Linked DNA regions of Homo sapiens: region 1 is linked to region 2. The links are contacts of gene promoters, found by promoter capture Hi-C in human tissues and cell types (Jung and others, 2019). All regions are on one chromosome and are shown on one strand. The core of a region is centred on a gene start or on the middle of the fragment in contact, and the rest is flanking DNA. Distances in the headings are between cores, read along the strand shown. Region 1 holds the start of APOLD1 (apolipoprotein L domain containing 1). Region 2 holds the start of EMP1 (epithelial membrane protein 1).

The links. The method cuts DNA at HindIII sites, captures the fragments that hold promoters and counts their contacts. A contact is called where the count stands out against the background at its distance.
Region 1: a fragment that was not itself captured here is called in contact with the fragment with the promoter of EMP1 in region 2 in 1 of the 25 tissues and cell types used here (heart right ventricle).

What each region holds. Positions count from the first base shown.
Region 1 is chr12:12,784,073-12,789,472 of GRCh38, forward strand. It overlaps APOLD1 (apolipoprotein L domain containing 1), which reads left to right and starts at 1,587. Exons shown (of 2, transcript NM_030817.3): 1 at 1,587-1,622; 2 at 2,837-5,400. The coding sequence starts at 1,620. The coding sequence ends at 3,580. RefSeq lists silencers at 2,874-2,973, 3,004-3,113. The HindIII fragment of the contact is 6,568 bases long and covers 1-5,325 here.
Region 2 is chr12:13,193,851-13,198,840 of GRCh38, forward strand. EMP1 (epithelial membrane protein 1) reads left to right here and starts at 2,876. Exons shown (of 5, transcript NM_001423.3): 1 at 2,876-3,022. RefSeq lists an enhancer at 4,916-4,990. The HindIII fragment of the contact is 16,024 bases long and covers 1-4,990 here.

The sequences.
Region 1 (5,400 bases), core at 792-3,291, 410 kb before region 2:
AGGTCAGTATACACGCTGTCTATTTTCCTCTACCTTCTGGTTCTTCATCCCACCTCTGTACTATGATATTGATGCTCTGAGGAAGACCCTGTATCCCAGCAATATTCCTCATCTATAAAATAAAGATTTAATTGTGTTCCTCTAAACCCAAAACACACAGGATGATGTCCAGGGAAGTTAGAGGAACATGTGTCAGCTGAAGAATCAGTGGTATGTTCCCTCTTGTCTACCTCCCCAATTCGCGCTGGCCCACATCCCATTTGGAGTGACCATGTCTATGGAGATAGAGGAGGATATTCTTCCACTTCTAACCTCAAAAGGACACACTGGAGGCATCTAGATTGAGGTTACAGCTATCCTTTGAGGAGCTGTAACAAGAATATTTGGAAGTGGACCAAATCTAGAATAATCAAGTTTGAAAGGACTATGGTTGTCCTTTCTGTTGCTACTGTTGTTATACTGTGTTGATAAATACAAAGTATAGTCATAAAGGTGGGGGATTTAATCATGTTCCAGAATGATACGGCTGTTAAGGCTTTCCAGGTAAGCCAGAGAGTTGAGATAATCCTTATTCAAGTGAGAAACGAATTTGGCCCTCCTTATCTGGAGGAGAGGGTTAGAAGGACGATGGATGGATTTGGGGACATGTAGTAGGACTGAATTCCTAGGCTGAGCTCCAACCACCTCTGAATGCCCCAGAGATATCTATGTTCCATCTGGTCTGGTCTGCAGCAAGTCCACAGAAGCTACATTCACTTTTCTGTGCTGAATTATCAAAATAATTGCCCTTCAGCCCATGCCTCATGACCCTGTAGACAGAATCCACTCATTTCCCTATCACATGGGCTACAATTGCTACTTCAAATGAAAACCTGGGAAGCCAATGCCCTATTGTGGTTGAAAGTGTACAATTAGCTCCTCATGCAGCCTGACCCCACTGATTTTTCTGATGCATGTGACCTGGAGTGTGCCCTTTCTGAGACCGCCAATGTCTTCTCCACAGCTGGAGATGCCCAAAACTGCACGCAGCACTTCCTGTGGGTGTGGCCTTGCATTCTTAGGACTGCAGGGTACCCGCTGCATGCCAAATGATCCCAGGCTCCAGCCACTCACAGATTCACAACGCTTTTAAAAATACAGCAGTGGAGTATGAGCGGCTATGTCAGATATGAGGGTTTTCCACCCCCTCCCTTTTCTTTTAAAATATGATTTTGTAATGGTGGCCTCAAGAAACACTATAATTGGTCAGCCTGGGGTGCGTTTGAAGGCCTTCTCTATCGCGTCATTAGCTATTCTCAGGAAAGGCAGGGTATCCCACTGGGAGAATGACAACACACTTGTTTCAAGTTAGGGAAGAGCCTGTGGTTCTCTTCCTGCGTTCAGGGGAAAGCGAACACACAATGTTCGTTTCCTAAATACGGGATGTGCTGTGCTGGCAGGTCATTTTCCACCATGTCACGTCCTTCTAGATGAAGGCAGCAGGGGTCATGACAGGAAATGGCAAATTCTCAGAATGAGACAAGGCTTTCCCAGGGCAGCCATTGGTTCTCTGGAACTATAAAGCACACTCATCCAGAAACAGCCTCAGATTTTACTTTCCTGGAGGCAGACAGAAGTGAATGGTAAGTGGGGAACCCTGAGGCATATATTCGGGATGACTTTTTCTCATTTTCTCTTTTCACCTGGAAAATTATCCCTGGTGGGTTGGATTATGGAAGCATGGAAGTAAAATTAAGTCCTGTGAATAAGGAGATGAGGATTCTAGACTGGGCTCTGTGAAGAATCAGCTGCTTCTAGAATCTGATGTCTGATGCAGGCAATTCTTCCAGATGAGAATGATTTCTGCCCTGATAGCTCAGTTTTGAAATGCTCTATTTCTATGGCTCATTTGCCACTTTTAAGAAGTTCCTAATAATGAAGAGTACAGTGGACATGAAGGTGGGAATCTGCAACTAGGATGAATATACTTTTCCCCCAAGATGTACAACTTGTTCGTATCTTTGTCAGTCATCTTCAGTTGGCTTCAACGTGGTAGAAGTTGTTGAACAAAAATTTTGGCCACTTTATTTTATTCAACCATTACTCATTTTTAAAAGAAAACTTTCATAACAAAGAGACATAATGGTATTAATTTAATGTGACTTAGTTTAAATCAAGCACCCAGCAAAGACTGATGTTTCTGAAGATCCAAGGAGCCCTAGTTAGAATAAACAGTGCAAATCTCATTTTAGGCTTGATTCTAAGAAAAGAGCCTGGAAGAATCACAAGCAGAAGAGTTGCTTCAGGCAAGCATCTAACTTAGATGTTTCTTCTGCTTGGTAGAAAATACGATTTTTGAGGTTTTGGTGAAGTCTTTTTCATTCATTAGAGAGAGAGAAAAGTGTGTTGCAAAACTCCTAGGATCCAATTTTCACATGATGAAAGGGCTTTGTAAACTGTACAACCCACCACTTACAAAGTGTTATCTTAAGTAGAGCAAAGGCCTCAGTACTGGAGAAGCCTTCTAATACCACGCCCCTCCCAGTTTAAATCTTATTTAACACATAGCTGATGAAGCCCATCGTTAACGTTCCCTGGGAGAGAAGCAGAAGATAGCATTATTCCTATTTCCATATGCAGAGATAAGGTCCTGAGAACTTGTGTGGCTCCCCCCGGATTCCAGAACAGGTCTTTGAGAACTCGTCTCATGATCCACTGGAAACAGACCCGTTCCCCTAGCGTGGCAGTGGCTGCTCCGCTGAACTCGTGCCAAGTTCCCGCTGGCGTCCGGGCAGCAGGGCGGGAGCGGCGGCTGGCACGGAGACTCCAGGCTGACCGCGTGTCTATGTCCCCGCAGGGAATGGAGAGGCCGGCGGCCCGGGAGCCGCATGGGCCCGACGCGCTGCGGCGCTTCCAGGGACTGCTGCTGGACCGCCGAGGCCGGCTGCACGGCCAGGTGCTGCGCCTGCGCGAGGTGGCCCGGCGCCTGGAGCGCCTGCGCAGGCGCTCCCTCGTAGCCAACGTGGCCGGCAGCTCGCTGAGCGCAACGGGCGCCCTCGCCGCCATCGTGGGGCTCTCGCTCAGCCCGGTCACCCTGGGGACCTCGCTGCTGGTGTCGGCCGTGGGGCTGGGGGTGGCCACAGCCGGAGGGGCCGTCACCATCACGTCCGATCTCTCGCTGATCTTCTGCAACTCCCGGGAGCTGCGGAGGGTGCAGGAGATCGCGGCCACCTGCCAGGACCAGATGCGAGAGATCCTGAGCTGCCTCGAGTTTTTCTGCCGCTGGCAGGGCTGCGGGGACCGCCAGCTGCTGCAGTGCGGGAGGAACGCCTCCATCGCCCTGTACAATTCTGTCTACTTCATCGTCTTCTTTGGCTCACGTGGCTTCCTCATCCCCAGGCGGGCGGAGGGGGACACCAAGGTTAGCCAGGCCGTGCTGAAGGCCAAGATTCAGAAACTGGCCGAGAGCCTGGAGTCCTGCACCGGGGCTCTGGACGAACTCAGCGAGCAGCTGGAGTCTCGGGTTCAGCTCTGCACCAAGTCCAGTCGTGGCCACGACCTCAAGATCTCTGCTGACCAGCGTGCAGGGCTGTTTTTCTGAGAACATCCTTTCCCCCTAATGACCGAGGCCAGCAAATCATCCTCATGGGATGCTCCAGAATTTGTAGCTCCCTTAGGAAAACACCAAGCTGGGTTAGGAGCCGAAGGCAAAGGATGAGAAAAACTGTTTTTGAAGTGGGCAGGTCCCCAAAGCCCTTCTTTTCCCATCACTGTGACATCTGCCTGGGCTTGAGTGCTACGGACTTTTCAGTCTTCCTAGTGGAAAAATGTGACCCAAAAACTCTTTTTCCTTTATCAAAAACTTTCTGTCTAAACACAGCTGGGCAGGCACTCCTGTTTTAAAGTTATTTCGGGGTCCCTGACCCTGCCCTGGTGGCTTGGCCTGAGACTGGAGAGAGTGCCATCCTCTGGGTCCTCTCCAAGTCCTACTAGTCTTTGAAGTCCTCAAAATGTGCGTGAGGAAGGCGTTTGCCTCTATTCCAGAATTTCTGATACAAAGAACTCCAGAATCCAGAGCAAATCAGCCCTTCTCTGAACGTTGTAGGATGGTTCAGAACCCAGAGAGGACCCTGGTGCTGATATCTCCTCCTCTTCCCTTTCCCCTCAGCTTACTTACTCCCAGATGCGGCCTGGGTATGAAGTAGGCCTTTCCTGAGTGGCTCCCAATCCAGTCCTCCAAGTACTCAGAGGGGAAGCCCGTGAAGCCGTCATCTAAGTCCTGCTCCCTCACATGAAGCTGAGGGCCAGATAGATGGAGCGACTGCCAACTTCATTTCCCGACATCATTGTGTTCAGAAGAGAGTGATGGGTTTTGAGTTAGACAGTCCTGGGCTTGAGACAGGCTTTGTCACTACTGTGTGAGTGTAGCCACCTAATCTCTCTGAGACTGTGTAAAACAAAGATGATAAAATCTCACCCTGTTGTGAGATATTAAATGAGCCAAAGTGCCTAGCATGATGGTGCTGGCTCATATAGTGTAGTCCCTGGAATGGCAAATTAACATCACCCAGGAACTTGTTAGAAAGGCAAATTCTTGGACACAACCCTCCTGATTTATGGAATCAGAAACTCTGGCTGTGGGGCCCAGCAACCTGAGTTTAAACAATTTCTCTGGGTGGTTCTGCGGCACACTAAGGTTTGAAAATCACTGCAACAAATGCTAACTTCTAATCCCCTTGATGAGCTTTCACGAAGTCTCACGGCTTCTCTAGGGACTCCATGGTCTTCAGAGTCGTTCACAGATGACCAAGGACAGACTGTGTCCCAGAAGCCAAAATGAGAGAGAGAGAGAGAGAGCACGCGTACGTGCACCCTGGGGCAGTGTCTCACCGTATGAACAAGGGATGTAACACTAAAAGCCCATTAGGGGGCAGTGTTTCCCGCCTGTTGTAGAAACTGGTACAGAAAGGAATATGAAGTTCCTGAAACTGACCTTTGTCTATTATTACCTTCTCTGAAAAGTGCCAGTCCATGTATTTTTTATTTATTTTAAGTTTGTAATTTAATTTTTAATTATTGTTTAGTGTTTGCATTTAATTTTATTTAATCACCACATTTAGAAAATAATAAGAGCAAGTTTCTAAATGGGAGACTGCTGAGGCTCTTTGCAAGAGATGAGATTAAGTTTGAGTTTCTAAGGCAGGGCATGAGCTGGAAATAGCATTGCTTTCCTTGATTGTCTCTCTCCTTCAGGGAGATTCTTTTTCTCTAGTGTTTTAAGTGATCCTTTGAAGTAAGTGTGGAGAGTCTTGAATGGCAAGACCAGGAGCTGAGTTTAAGCTTGTAATGGAAGCTTGCATTGTGGGATATATAACTGAGGAAGCATATTTATCCTGAAGGTATTTTGCCAGAAGGTATCAC
Region 2 (4,990 bases), core at 1,626-4,125:
AAACGCCAGGGGAGCTGTATCTCCAGCCCCATGTGGTTTTAGGCCCTGAACCGTTTACTGTCTGTAGTCTCAAAATTGTCTGCTCATAGCCAAAGGAACACTCAGGCTTAACGAGTTAATCACATCCAGAGGCACAAAAAGCTAGAACTTCAGCCAGAACAGATCCAATTGCTTTCCCAGACTGGATAACTTTGTTTTATAAAATAAGCTCAGTGATATTTCAAGGGTTAATTATAAGTCTTTAGAAATCCTGGACTTGCATTCATCTTTTAAAAATATTTACACAACTTGGCTTTCTATGGCACCACTCTGTGTGTGCATGTGTGCATGTGTGTGTGCGTGCATGTGTTTTTGCATGTGTGCATGGGTGTGTTTTCACAGCTCAATGCATTTAATATTTTCTCTCCAAACCTAGACATCTCCAAAAGCACACAGGAAGGTGAGATTTATCAGACCCATTTGGAAGGTGATGCTGTCTACTCACTTTAAGGTGAAATGGAGGCAGGCAGATGCCTCGCTCACAGCCACTGCCAGGTAGTAGGCGTGGAAACTGGGCCTCCTGCTTTCTGGGTCCTGTTTTGAAGCCCGTCCCTGAGCCCAGCGTCTCTCTTTGTGAAATCCATGGAAATCCAGATAGACTGAAGGATTCCTCTACTCAAGTACTTTAAGAAAAGTTCCTGATTTTTCCCCTTGTTAAGCCCGAGAAGGAGGTGGGAGGGAGAATGCCTCCCCTCTGCTATTCCTTGGCTCCAGGTTTCTCTTTAAGAAATGCAATCAGACCACATACTCCTCAGCATCTGAGAACACTTCCTCTGGAGTCCAGTTCTCCTTTCCAGGCAGCTGAGGGAAGAGAGACTTTAAAACTGGCAGAGGGCATCAGGGGTGAAAGGCAACCCTGAGAGTAGGAAAAGGCCAGGGAGACAGGCCGATTCCAGCAGGGGAGACTGGCCCATCTGGAGCGCCAGCACATGCCTGGGGATTTCCTGGCCTCACCTGCAGACACCCTCCCCTCCCTGAGGGTTGGGATGCTCAGAGATCACAGGGACTCTCAACCCACTGCTGGGAGTGGCCCCTCTCAGACAGGCATTTTTATTATCAAATGAGCAATGAGAGAGGGGAGAGGTGAGGAACTCTATGAGAAACATGCAGTCTTTTATCACGTCATCAGTTTTCAGTGAGAAAATCCAGACCTTCTTACTTTTACAGAGATAGAATTCAGTTCTCAGGGACTTGTGAAGATGCAGCATCATCAAATCATTGTGTGTGTGTGTGTGTGTGTGTGTTGTGTTTTCCTTATCATCCACCTTAGAAAATATTCTCCACATTCCCATGTTAAAATATTTTTTCCTAAAATCCATCCATCCACATGCCAACATCCTAAAGACAGTAATATAGGTTCATTGCAGAGGATTTGGAAAATACAGAATTGTGACCAGAACAAACTAAACTGCATCCATAATTTTATCATCGAATTTGATCAACATTTTGGTGAATAGCCACCAGTCTGTTTTCTATCTTTTTAGGGAATATAAGTTCCAAGAGGCAGGGATGTCATTCACTTCTGTGACTCAGTGCTCTGAATCAGGCCCAGTGAAGACTGACGTGCAGCCTGTATTGGCAGAATGAATGAATAAATACTACACACGCATATTTTGAATTGAAATAAGTTGTCAGGGTGCAGCAGAGAATAACAGAAATAGAATTGCTTGGATGTGCTGACCTAGATCCAAGCTGCTACTGGTAACGTACTGTATCTCCTTGAATAAGTCACTTCACCTCTCTGGGCCTGAGCTGCTTCTTCAGTAAAATAATCCTTGTAGCTAAGATTTGTTGAGCGCTCACTATGCACACTGCCATGAGCCCCTATATGTGTATTTCTCATCATAGCTCTATGAGTTACATACCTGCCATCTCCATTTTATGCATGAGAAAATAGGCATGGAGAAGTTAAGTGGTTTGCCTAAAGTCACACAGCAAATTTGTGGAGAGCTGGGCTTGAACTCAGGCATCTGGGCTTTTACTCTCTCCAGTGGAATGCCTGGGCTGTGGGATGAGATGACTTCACAGGCCTCTCCCAGCTCCAGAGTTGAGAGAGAGAGAGGAGTGGTGCAGGGAGGTAGTAGGGATGATTATGCTACTGGCCAAGTTCAAGAAAGTCAATTGTAGAACAAGGTCCAGCTGATTATTACAGAGAGCAAAGTTCTTAACTAGAGGACTTCCTCCTGGAATGTGGAGAGTCCACACGGGCACTAGCAGAGCATAATGAAAGACCAGGAATTCTCTGCTGTTCAATCAGTGCTCCATCACTCAGAGGCAGGGCTGCAAGAGCTCCTAGTGTGTCCCCTTCGCCTTCAGGGCCTCCCTGTACAGCCACCCACAGGACAGTGCACCAGGGTCAGGCAGGGAAGTAAATAAAAAAAGGAATCTGATAATTCCTGACAGTGAGCAGCAGCTGATGCTTTTAATGGGGGAGGAAGACTGGGAATCTCGCTTGATGATGACCTAGGACTTCAGTCAGCAGGACACTGGCCCCTTTCCTCCCCCTCCCAGGCTGAAACCTTGTGTTTTGCCTTATGTCCATGGTAACCAAGTCTCCTTTTTGGTGAGGAGGAATGGGCTTCAGTAAACAGATCTATTTGTGTGATCCTGTTACTCATTTGAAGCAATGTCCCTCCTTTTTTCCACTGTGGTCTGTGTGTCTGAGTCAGAGAGAGCCTACAACAGGGTTCTTTGAATTGATGGCTCACTCCCAGCCACTCTTGACTGACTGCCAGCTTAGCAGGGCGTAGCTTACCAACAAATCTTTTTTTTTTTTTTAAAGCCAGACTGATTCATAGAAACTCCTTTAAAACACGGTGAAAAGAAACCGCCCATTACACACCCCAGTACACCAGCAGAGGAAACTTATAACCTCGGGAGGCAGGTCCTTCCCCTCAGTGCGGTCACATACTTCCAGAAGAGCGGACCAGGGCTGCTGCCAGCACCTGCCACTCAGAGCGCCTCTGTCGCTGGGACCCTTCAGGTAGGACAGCTCCCAACGCTGTGGGGACTCTCAGCAAAACTTCTCCTTCCTTTCCACGGCTCTGCTTCTTCTGACCTCATCTTAGTTTTGCTTTTTCTTTTCTTCCTTCGCTATTTTTCTATGATCCTCTAAGAACCAAGTCCTTGAAACTTTTGGCTCAAAGTGGATACAGAGACAACTTTTTCTAGAAAGTTCAGAAAAGTGTATTTTGAGGACGGAGTCTGGGGAAATCAATGGGATGGGGCTAAAATCGTGCCTGGCAGTGACCGGGTTCTTGTTCTAGGATGTGGAGGGAGCAGGGACTTTGAAACAAACTGGGATAGGATCCTGTTTATGGAGGAAACACCACACACCTTGGAAATGACATCGGGAACTGGCCAGATGTTTTTCACCTCCTCCGTTTTGATTCCGATTGCTTCAGGACTTGAACTGTTACTCTGCTCGCTGGTTGTTGGTTGGGATTTTTTGGGTGGTGGTGGATAGATAACTGGTTTTCAGTTTATTTTTGACATTGCTTTTCCTGCCTGTTTGCTTCCCTATTCACTTCTGTTTAAATTTAAGTATTTTTTTTCTCCTCACAGGATGGGAAGAGGGGGATTGGTTTGTTTAAAGAAAACTGTTGGCCGGGCACGGTGGCTCATGCCTGTAATCCTAGCACTTTGGGAGGCTGAGGCGGGCGGATCACCTGAGGTCAGGAGTTCAAGACAAGCCTGGCCAACATGGTGAAACCCTGTCTCTACTAAAATACAAAAAGTAGCCAGGCATGATGGCAGGTGCCTGTAATTCTAGCTACTTGGTAGGCTGAGACGGGAGAATTGCTTGAATCCGGGAGATGGTGGTTGCAGTGAACTGAGATTGCGCCACTACACTCCAGCCTGGGCAGCTGAGTGAGACTCTGTCTCAAAAAGGAAAAAAAAGAAAAAGAAAAAAAATGAAAAAAGAAAACTGTTAGAGAGAGAAAGAGAGGGAGGCAAATGGTGTTTTAAATGAAACGTGGGAGGGGTTCACTTGGTCGAAGCAGGAGCTGATGAGGATTCCAGATGCCTTCTCTTGGCCAGATGTGGAGGGCGGGGGAGGCAAAAGGGAAGCTGGGTTTGGAGAAGAGGGTGGGGCAGGAGAACTTCATCTGTGCCTGTTAAAAATTGTTGAGTGGCTTTGTGCTTTCACCCCAGAAAGAGCTGCCTTTCAGTGCTGAGTGAAAAGATGGCATACCAGAAACGATAAAAGAACTTTTAAAAGAAAGTGGATGTGGAATTTCTTTGCATGGAAGGCAGTGATTGTTTTGAAATGCTTATCTTTTCTCTTGTTCCCGAAATGTGATTGTATAAATGCAAACACTCATGCTAATCATGAAATCTGGAGGAATGAAGAAGGGTGCTTTTTCTTTTTTTTCTTTTTTTCTTTTTTTCGGTTAGCATTTTGGGTGAGTGTCTACCGAGGTGTGGCCCATTTCAACATAGACACTGGTATATTTTTTCCCCAAGTAAACAAGATGAGAATGACAGGATTCAGCTTGTCTGACAAAGTTAGGCTTTTCCTTTAGAAAGGCAGTACGTTGGGAGAGAAGTTACATGTAATCAACCCTGTGTTGAGCAGGCAATGCTCCTTGTAAAACTGCCCCAAGGGGGACGATTGAGTAGGCATCAGGGCAACTTTTCAAGATGAAGGGAACTCCTACATTTGCTTCACATGTTTATTATTTCCACATTACATGGATGTGGATTAGCCATTATTAAATCAATAGTGTTAATATCCTGTGAAAATTATACAAATCTTTTAGTTCTGTGCAGGTTAAAACTAATAACCAGTCAACACACGGAAAGCCCTGACAATGTTGGGAGTGTAAACCATCATGAACTGCATTATTTGTGGCAAGGTTTCACATGATACTGTAGGTTTATAAAGGAGAAAATATGCTACATGTTACTTCCTGGAGTTTGAAGACAATTTAGAAAAATACCGTTCTGA